Regions from separate parts of the Homo sapiens genome. Here regions 2 and 3 are each linked to region 1. The links are contacts of gene promoters, found by promoter capture Hi-C in blood cells and fetal thymus (Javierre and others, 2016). All regions are on one chromosome and are shown on one strand. The core of a region is centred on a gene start or on the middle of the fragment in contact, and the rest is flanking DNA. Distances in the headings are between cores, read along the strand shown. Region 1 holds the start of AFG2B (AAA ATPase AFG2B). Region 2 overlaps EIF3J (eukaryotic translation initiation factor 3 subunit J). Region 3 overlaps SPG11 (SPG11 vesicle trafficking associated, spatacsin).

Region 1 (2,506 bases), core at 3-2,502:
ATTTCAAGACCTCCTCCTGCTATTTTCTGATTCCTAAATTGTTCCAGAATCGATTTAAGCAGACAAGTACAGCTGAGACCAGGTAAGTTACTGTCAAGTCAAGAAGTCTGTCATGTCTGCCATGAAGTTTGGACAGAATGAGATCAGGAACTGGCATGGGTCTTAAGATCCCAGATCTGACAGTACTTCCCATTGATAAGATATTACTACACAGTCTGTAATTGATTATTTGCATAGATAGAAAAAAAAAACTTCCCAGCAACTTAAGCACTCTAAAATATCAGTTTTGTCAACTCACAAATTTGGGTTGCAGTGAAAGTGGGGAAAATAGAGGTAGGAAGATGTAAGTCAAATAAAAACAAGGTATATCTTCTTGTCTTTGAGTATCTGTAGTTCTTTTTTAACGGCAATTAAGAGGGATAGAAAATGTATTCCAGCTGATAAAAAGGAATTCCCTGTGCGAAAGGGAAAGGCAGAAAGCAGCTGGAAAAAAAAAATAGCAGGCAGTTGTCTTAATAACGTAGATAGGTATCGCCTCTAATACAGGACTTAGTACTGTTGTGCCCCAATTAGACAGTAAGCATTGATCGCATGAACTTTAGTGATTAACTTGTTGCCAAAGAATATTCAAAAGAATATCAGAAATCAGAACAAATGTACTGTTGGTGTGCTACAAATCCATCAGGTAGCCTAGTTTTCCTTCTTTCCTCTCTACAAGGGATTTTAAGCGCTACCGTGTGCTTCCCTCCCACTATGCTGGTACTTTCCCATAGGAAGGGTTGTGCCTGGACCTCCCAGATTGGAACCCCGATTACCGAAGGTCCCAAGGCTGTATTCTCAGTTACGCCAAGTCACCTGAGACATTTGCACCAGAGCACCCAAAATTCTGTGCCCATGCGGATAGTTAGAGTTTCTTCACAAAATAGCAAAGTCTCTAGGTTGCTATTCCAACGGCGGTAGTACTGATGCTCCAGTTCGAAGGCCAGGAAAACAGAATGTAAAGCCGGTGACTTCCAAGATATATGTAACCACCAAAGTACATGCTTAATGACCTAGTGAAGTGAGCTTAAGCCGCCTCCCAGACACCTGTAACGAAGACCATCTCGGGAAAGCTCTGGGTTAGGCAACTCGATTTCACGAAAGCGGACACCAACGCTCTACCCAGAGGCCCGAGCGTCGTCTAACGTTTCCATTGGCCCTTTCGGCCTTCACTCAGCTGCTAGCAACGCAGTCTGCCCTAGCGCATGCGCGCAATCTGCTTCCGGCCTGCGAGCTCGGTGTTCCGCTTTTTGTGGGCCGGGTGGGTTTCCTAATCTGGTTTCGTCTGCCTGGTTCATCTGTGTGCGATGGCTCCGGACTCGGATCCCTTCCCTGAAGGGCCGCTCTTAAAGCTGCTACCCTTAGACGCTAGAGACCGGGGCACCCAGCGCTGCCGCCTGGGCCCGGCCGCCCTCCACGCCCTGGGCGCGCGCTTGGGCTCGGCAGTGAAGATCTCGCTACCCGACGGCGGCTCCTGCCTCTGCACTGCCTGGCCTCGGCGGGACGGAGCGGACGGCTTTGTGCAGCTGGACCCGCTGTGCGCGAGCCCCGGGGCGGCGGTCGGGGCGTCGAGATCCCGGAGGAGTCTCAGCCTGAATCGCCTCCTCCTAGTGCCCTGTCCGCCCCTGCGGCGCGTCGCCGTGTGGCCGGTGTTGCGAGAGCGGGCAGGCGCGCCCGGTGCCCGGAATACAGCCGCGGTGCTGGAGGCGGCACAGGAGCTGCTGAGAAACCGACCGATCTCCCTGGGCCACGTGGTGGTCGCTCCGCCAGGCGCTCCTGGCCTGGTGGCTGCCTTGCACATCGTCGGCGGGACGCCCAGTCCCGATCCCGCTGGGCTGGTCACCCCTCGTACCCGCGTCAGCCTTGGCGGGGAGCCTCCGTCGGAAGCCCAGCCGCAGCCCGAGGTGCCCCTGGGAGGTCTTTCGGAGGCGGCCGACTCGCTGCGGGAGCTCCTCCGCCTCCCGCTCCGCTACCCGCGCGCCCTGACCGCGCTGGGCTTAGCGGTGCCTCGCGGGGTGCTCCTGGCGGGGCCCCCCGGAGTGGGCAAGACCCAGCTGGTGCGGGCCGTGGCGCGCGAGGCGGGCGCGGAGCTGCTGGCAGTCAGCGCCCCGGCGCTGCAGGGTTCCCGGCCTGGGGAGACCGAGGAGAACGTGCGGCGGGTCTTCCAGCGCGCCCGGGAACTGGCCAGCCGCGGACCCAGCCTCCTCTTCCTGGACGAGATGGACGCCTTGTGTCCCCAGCGGGGCAGTCGAGCACCCGAGAGCCGCGTAGTGGCCCAGGTGTTGACGCTGCTGGACGGCGCCAGTGGGGACCGCGAGGTCGTGGTTGTGGGAGCCACTAACCGGCCGGACGCTCTAGACCCAGCGCTGCGTAGGCCCGGGAGATTTGACCGAGAGGTGAATGGGCTTGGCGGGTTTGCCCACTGTCGGTGGAACCTCGGCCGCTTCTGGCGCCATTTGGCTGCCCC
Region 2 (2,506 bases), core at 4-2,503, 860 kb before region 1:
TGGTTATTGTTTGAAGACACTCAGATGCTTTATTTACATGTTGTAGAAACATGGGACTAGATTTTGTTACCAGCCGCATTACAAGATATTAGTTACCCCTCTACATTGTAGCAGATTTTCAGTTTTGAGCCTTGGGTTCATATTGGTCCTTTCATTTTTTTCCATGCATATAGGAAGTGGCAGTTAAGACATCTGTTATGAAATTTGGGAATAAATTAACAAATGCAGAGAAAAGATTAGAGATATTAGGAAAGAAGTTGCAGAAAATGAAGTTTTAATGGATAGTCTAGACTAATGTCATGGAATAACTTCCTTGGGATTAAGGGATCTAAATGGTATCGATCTTGATGAATATAATTCTTTTTTTTTTTTTTTTTGAGATGGAGTTTCGCTCTTGTTGCCCAGGCTGGAGTGCAATGGCGCGATCTTGGCTCACTGCAACCTCCACCTCCTGGGTTCAAGTGATTCTCCTGCTTCAGCCTCCCAAGTAGCTGGGATTACAGGCACGCACCACCACGCCTGGCTAATTTTGTATTTTTAGTAGAGACGGGGTTTCGCCATGTTGCCCAGGCTGGTCTTGAACTTCTGACCTCAGGTGATTCTCCTGCCTTAGCCTCCCAAAGTGCTGGAATTATAGGCGTGAGCTACCGTACCCAGCCTCTGATGAATATAATTCTGATCACTTGGAACAAGTTTTGGATATTTACAAGTTGTAAGGGACCACAAAGATTATCTTGTCCAGTTGCTCTTTTTTTTTTGGAAATGGAGTCTCGCTCTGTCACCCAGGCTGGAGTGCAGTGGCACAATCTCCGCTCACTGCAAGCTCCGCCTCCCAGGTTCACTCCATTCTCCTGCCTCAGCCTCCCGAGGACTACAGGTGCCCACCACCACGCCCGGCTAATTTTTTCTATTTTTAGTAGAGACGGGGTTTCACCGTGTTAGCCAGGATGGTCTCAATCTCCTGACCTTGTGATCTGCCCGCCTTGGCCTCCCAAAGTGCTGGGATTACAGGCGTGAGCCACCACACCCGGCCCCAGTTGCTGTTTTAGTGCTAAATTTCTTTTTCTTTTTTTTTTTTTTTTTTAACTTAAAGCAATCTATCTATTCATCTAATTTTTTGAGAGAAGGTCTCACCCCGTTTCCCAGGCTGGAGTGCAGTGGCACGATCTCTGCAACCTCCGCCTCCCGGATTCAAGTGATTCTCCAGCCTCAGCCTTTCTAGTAGCTGGGATTACAGGTGTGCACCGCCGTGCCCAGCTAATTTACATATTTTTTTCTTTTTTTTTTTTTTGAGATAGAGTCTTGCTCTGTCACCCAGGCTGGAGTGCCGTGGCACGATCTTGGCTCACTGCAACCTCCGCCTCCCAGGTTCAAGCAGTTCTCTGCCTCAGCCTCCCGAGTAGCTGGGATTACAAGCGCCCACCACCACACCCAGCTAATTTTTGTATTTTTAGTAGAGACGGGGTTTCACCATCTTGGCCAGGCCGGTCTTGAACTCCTGACTTCGTGATCCACCCGCCTCGGCCTCCCAAAGTGCTGGGATTACAGACGTGAGCCACCGCGCCTGGCTATATATATATATATATATATATATATATATATTTTTTTTTTTTTTTTGTAGATACAGGGTTTCGCCATGTTACCTAGGCTGGTCTCAAACTCCTGAGGTCAAAGTGATCTTCCCGCCTCGGCCTCCCAGAGTGCTGGGATTACAGATGTGAGCCACTGCACCTGACCTATTTATTTTGAGACGGATTTGTGAGACTGGCTAATTTTTGTGTTTTTGGTAGAGGTGGAGTTTCGCCAAGTTGCCCAGGCTGGTCTCAAACTCCTGAGGTTAAAGCGATCTTCCCGCCTTGGCCTCCCAGAGTGCTGAGATTACAGGTGTGAGCCACTGCACCTGGCCTATTTATTTTGAGACAGATTTGTGAGACTGGCTAATTTTTGTGTTTTTGGTAGAGATAGAGTTTCGCCAAGTTGCCCAGGCTGGTCTCGAACTCTTGGAGTCAAGTGATCTATCCTCCTCAGCCTCCTAAAATGCTGGGATTATGGGCGTGAGCCAGCAGACTCAGCCATATCACCAAATTTCTGAATTCTTATGTTTTTGTACTTTTTATGAGGAGTTGCAGACAAGGCTTAGTTTCCGTGAGGTCTTCTGTTCATGTCAGCATCTAGTACTTAACCTTTAAAAATACAGGTTTAATGTCATTTGTAATGTCCTGGGAAATGAAAGGAAAACTGATGTTTTTGTTATTATAATTTGCTCCAGCACTTTACTCTCATTTAGTAGACTTAGTATTTTGCTGTCCTTGACTTTTCAAATAGCTGTCTGGCAGTGGCAGAAGTGGACTTAGGTGAAACTGTACAACCGTTAATATATATGGCAAGAAAAGACTATGCTTTTCCCCAGTTAAAAAGATGAGAACTCGGGAGCATAGTTTCCCATCACCCTGGCTTTATTTACCTTTTTTACTATCCTGATAGTTGTGCAGAGGTAGTGGGAAGA
Region 3 (2,506 bases), core at 1-2,500, 750 kb before region 1:
CTACATTTAAAAATAATGATAGACATATGAAAAAATGATGATCAAACCCAAATTTGTGTTACTACTGCTCCTGTTAAAAATAAGAGATTACAGAGAAGGAATAGTACAACAAATTCCGCAGAAAGGAACTCCTTATCTCCCTTGCTTATGTCACAGTAATAGAGTGAACTCTAAGAATTTTACTCTATTAAGGGCAGTTAGCTTGATAAAGCAGTAAGAACACTTACTGTCTACTATATTTCAGATGTTATGCTAAACACTTCACACAAACTCTTATTTAAGCCTCTAACAACCCTGTGAGGTAAATATAACCCCATCTTATAGAAATGGAAACTAAGGTTCAGAAACACTTTGAAACAGACTAATGTGACTATCAAGTCTAGCTTTTTTTCTTTTTTTTTTTTTTGAGACAGAGTCTCACTCTGTCACCCAGGCTGGAGTGCAGTGGCGCAATCTCAGCTCACTGCAACCTCTGCCTCCTGGGTTCAAGCGATTCTCCTGTCTTAGCCTCCCGAGTAGCTGGGACTGCAGGTGCATGCCACCATGCCTGGCTAATTTCTGTATTTTTAGTAGAGACAGGGTTTTACTATATATTGGCCAAGCTGGTCTCAAACTCCTGACTTCCAGTGATGTGCCTGCCTCGGCCTCCAGTCCAGATTTTAAAATCACTCATTATACTGCCACCACAAAGTAAGATTTAGGCTGCGACCAGAGGAATGCATAAGAACTAGAAGGTAAAGTATGTATGTGGGTATAGGTGGGAGAGTATATGTGGAAAAGGGGGCTGTTACATTTGAGAAACAAAGAAGGCTAGGGTGGCTAATGTACAGAAAATGAGAAGTAAGATGGAATGGGATGAGGCTAGAAAGATGGTTCAGGGCCCCATAGGCTATTAAGAATTTTAAACTTTTATCTGAGGGGGAAAAGGAACCTGAAGAAGGCTTTTAAGCAGAAAAGCAATATGAACAGATGCAGCAGAGTAGCTAGGGGAAGAAGGGGAAGGATTTTATCTCTTTGAACACTTACATTATTAAATATTAATCCTTTAAACAACTTGAAGGTAATTTGTTGACACAACCATATGACACTGTCCCAGGATGATGATGAAAAGAAGTTAGAGAAGGTAGGGCGAAAATGAGAAGATGCATGAGAAAATAGTTCCCCCATCAACAAAATAAAAGGTAGATACCCCTGCCCCAGATGTTAATGACTGGCTACACCTCTGATAAAATATGCATTTTAACAACATCACTCTTAGCTACTCTATTGTGGATGGATTTGAGGGGGTAATAGGCATGAGGAGATCAAGTAGGAGACTATTAAAATAGTTCAGTTAAGAGATAATGGTGGCATAGAGTGACGACAGAAGAGTTGAGAAAAGTGGACAAAGAAACATTTAGGAGACAGAAAGGGTAGGACCTGATGATTAACTGGATGTGGATCTAATACCAAAAAGAAGTTGGAGATACAGTAGTTCCCTCTTATCCACAGTGGATACATTCAAGACACACAGTAGGTACCTGAAACTGCAGATAGTACCAAACCCTATACATACAGTTGACCCTTGAATATCACAGGTTTGAACTCCATGGGTCCACTTATATGATTTTTTTTTTCCAAAAATACATTGGAAAAATTTGTAAAGATTTGCAACAATTTGTTTAAACTCACAAATGAACCATGTAGCCTAGAAATATATTTTTTTCAGACAGGGTCTTGCTCTGTTGCCCAGGCTGGAGTGCAGTGGTGCAATGACAGCTCACTGTAGCCTTGATCTCCTGGACTCAAGCAATCCTCCTGCCTCAGCCTCCGGAGTAGCTGAGACCACAGGCATGTACTACCATGCCCAGTTTAGCCTAGAAATATTTTTTAAAATAAAGATTAAGTCAGGTATGTCATGAATGCATAAAAGTTACATAGTTACTACTCTATCATTTTCTACCATAAATTATGCACAAATTGGCTGGGCACAGTGGCTCATGTCTGTAATCCCAGCACTTTGGGAGGCTGAGGCAGGTGGATCACTTGAGGTCAGGCGTTCAAGACCAGCCCGGCCAACATGGCGAAACCGTTTCTACTGAAAATACAAAAATTAGCTGGGCGTGGTGGCACATGCCTATAATCCCAGCTACTTGGGAGGCTGAGACACGAGAATCACTTGATCCCAGGAGGCGGACCTTGCAGTGGGCCGAGACTGCACCACTGCACTCCAACCTTGGCAATAGAGCAAGACTCCATCTCAAAATTAAAAAAAAAGAAACCCACAAACTTATTATAAAAAGTTAAGATTGGCTGGGCGCGGTGGCTCACGCCTGTAATCCCAGCATTTTTGGGAGGCCAAGGTGGGCGGATCATCTGAGGTCATAAGTTCAAAACCAGCCTGGCCAACACGGTGAAACCCCATTTCTACTAAAAATACAAAAAATTAGCCAGGCGTGGGTGGTGGGTAATCCCAGCTACTCAGGATGCTGAGACAGGAGAATCGCTTGAACCCAGGAGGCGGAGG

Evidence for each region. The method cuts DNA at HindIII sites, captures the fragments that hold promoters and counts their contacts. A CHiCAGO score of 5 or more calls a contact.
Region 2: a contact is called between a fragment that was not itself captured here and the fragment with the promoter of AFG2B in region 1, in 1 of 17 cell types (fetal thymus). The highest score is 5.0, in fetal thymus.
Region 3: a contact is called between a fragment that was not itself captured here and the fragment with the promoter of AFG2B in region 1, in 1 of 17 cell types (neutrophils). The highest score is 5.1, in neutrophils.

The regions. Positions count from the first base shown.
Region 1 is chr15:45,401,084-45,403,589 of GRCh38, forward strand. It overlaps AFG2B (AAA ATPase AFG2B), which reads left to right and starts at 1,253. Exons shown (of 8, transcript NM_024063.3): 1 at 1,253-2,435. The coding sequence starts at 1,347. It also overlaps a transcript of GATM not described here. RefSeq lists enhancers at 706-755, 766-835, 1,226-1,385 and silencers at 1,466-1,545, 1,936-2,085. The HindIII fragment of the contact is 3,246 bases long and covers 1-2,506 here.
Region 2 is chr15:44,538,667-44,541,172 of GRCh38, forward strand. All of the region lies in intron 2 of EIF3J (eukaryotic translation initiation factor 3 subunit J), which reads left to right. Among named protein-coding and RNA genes, the nearest start is that of EIF3J, 2.8 kb to the left of the region's middle. The HindIII fragment of the contact is 4,412 bases long and covers 1-2,506 here.
Region 3 is chr15:44,652,267-44,654,772 of GRCh38, forward strand. All of the region lies in intron 4 of SPG11 (SPG11 vesicle trafficking associated, spatacsin), which reads right to left. Among named protein-coding and RNA genes, the nearest start is that of SPG11, 10 kb to the right of the region's middle. The HindIII fragment of the contact is 9,884 bases long and covers 1-2,506 here.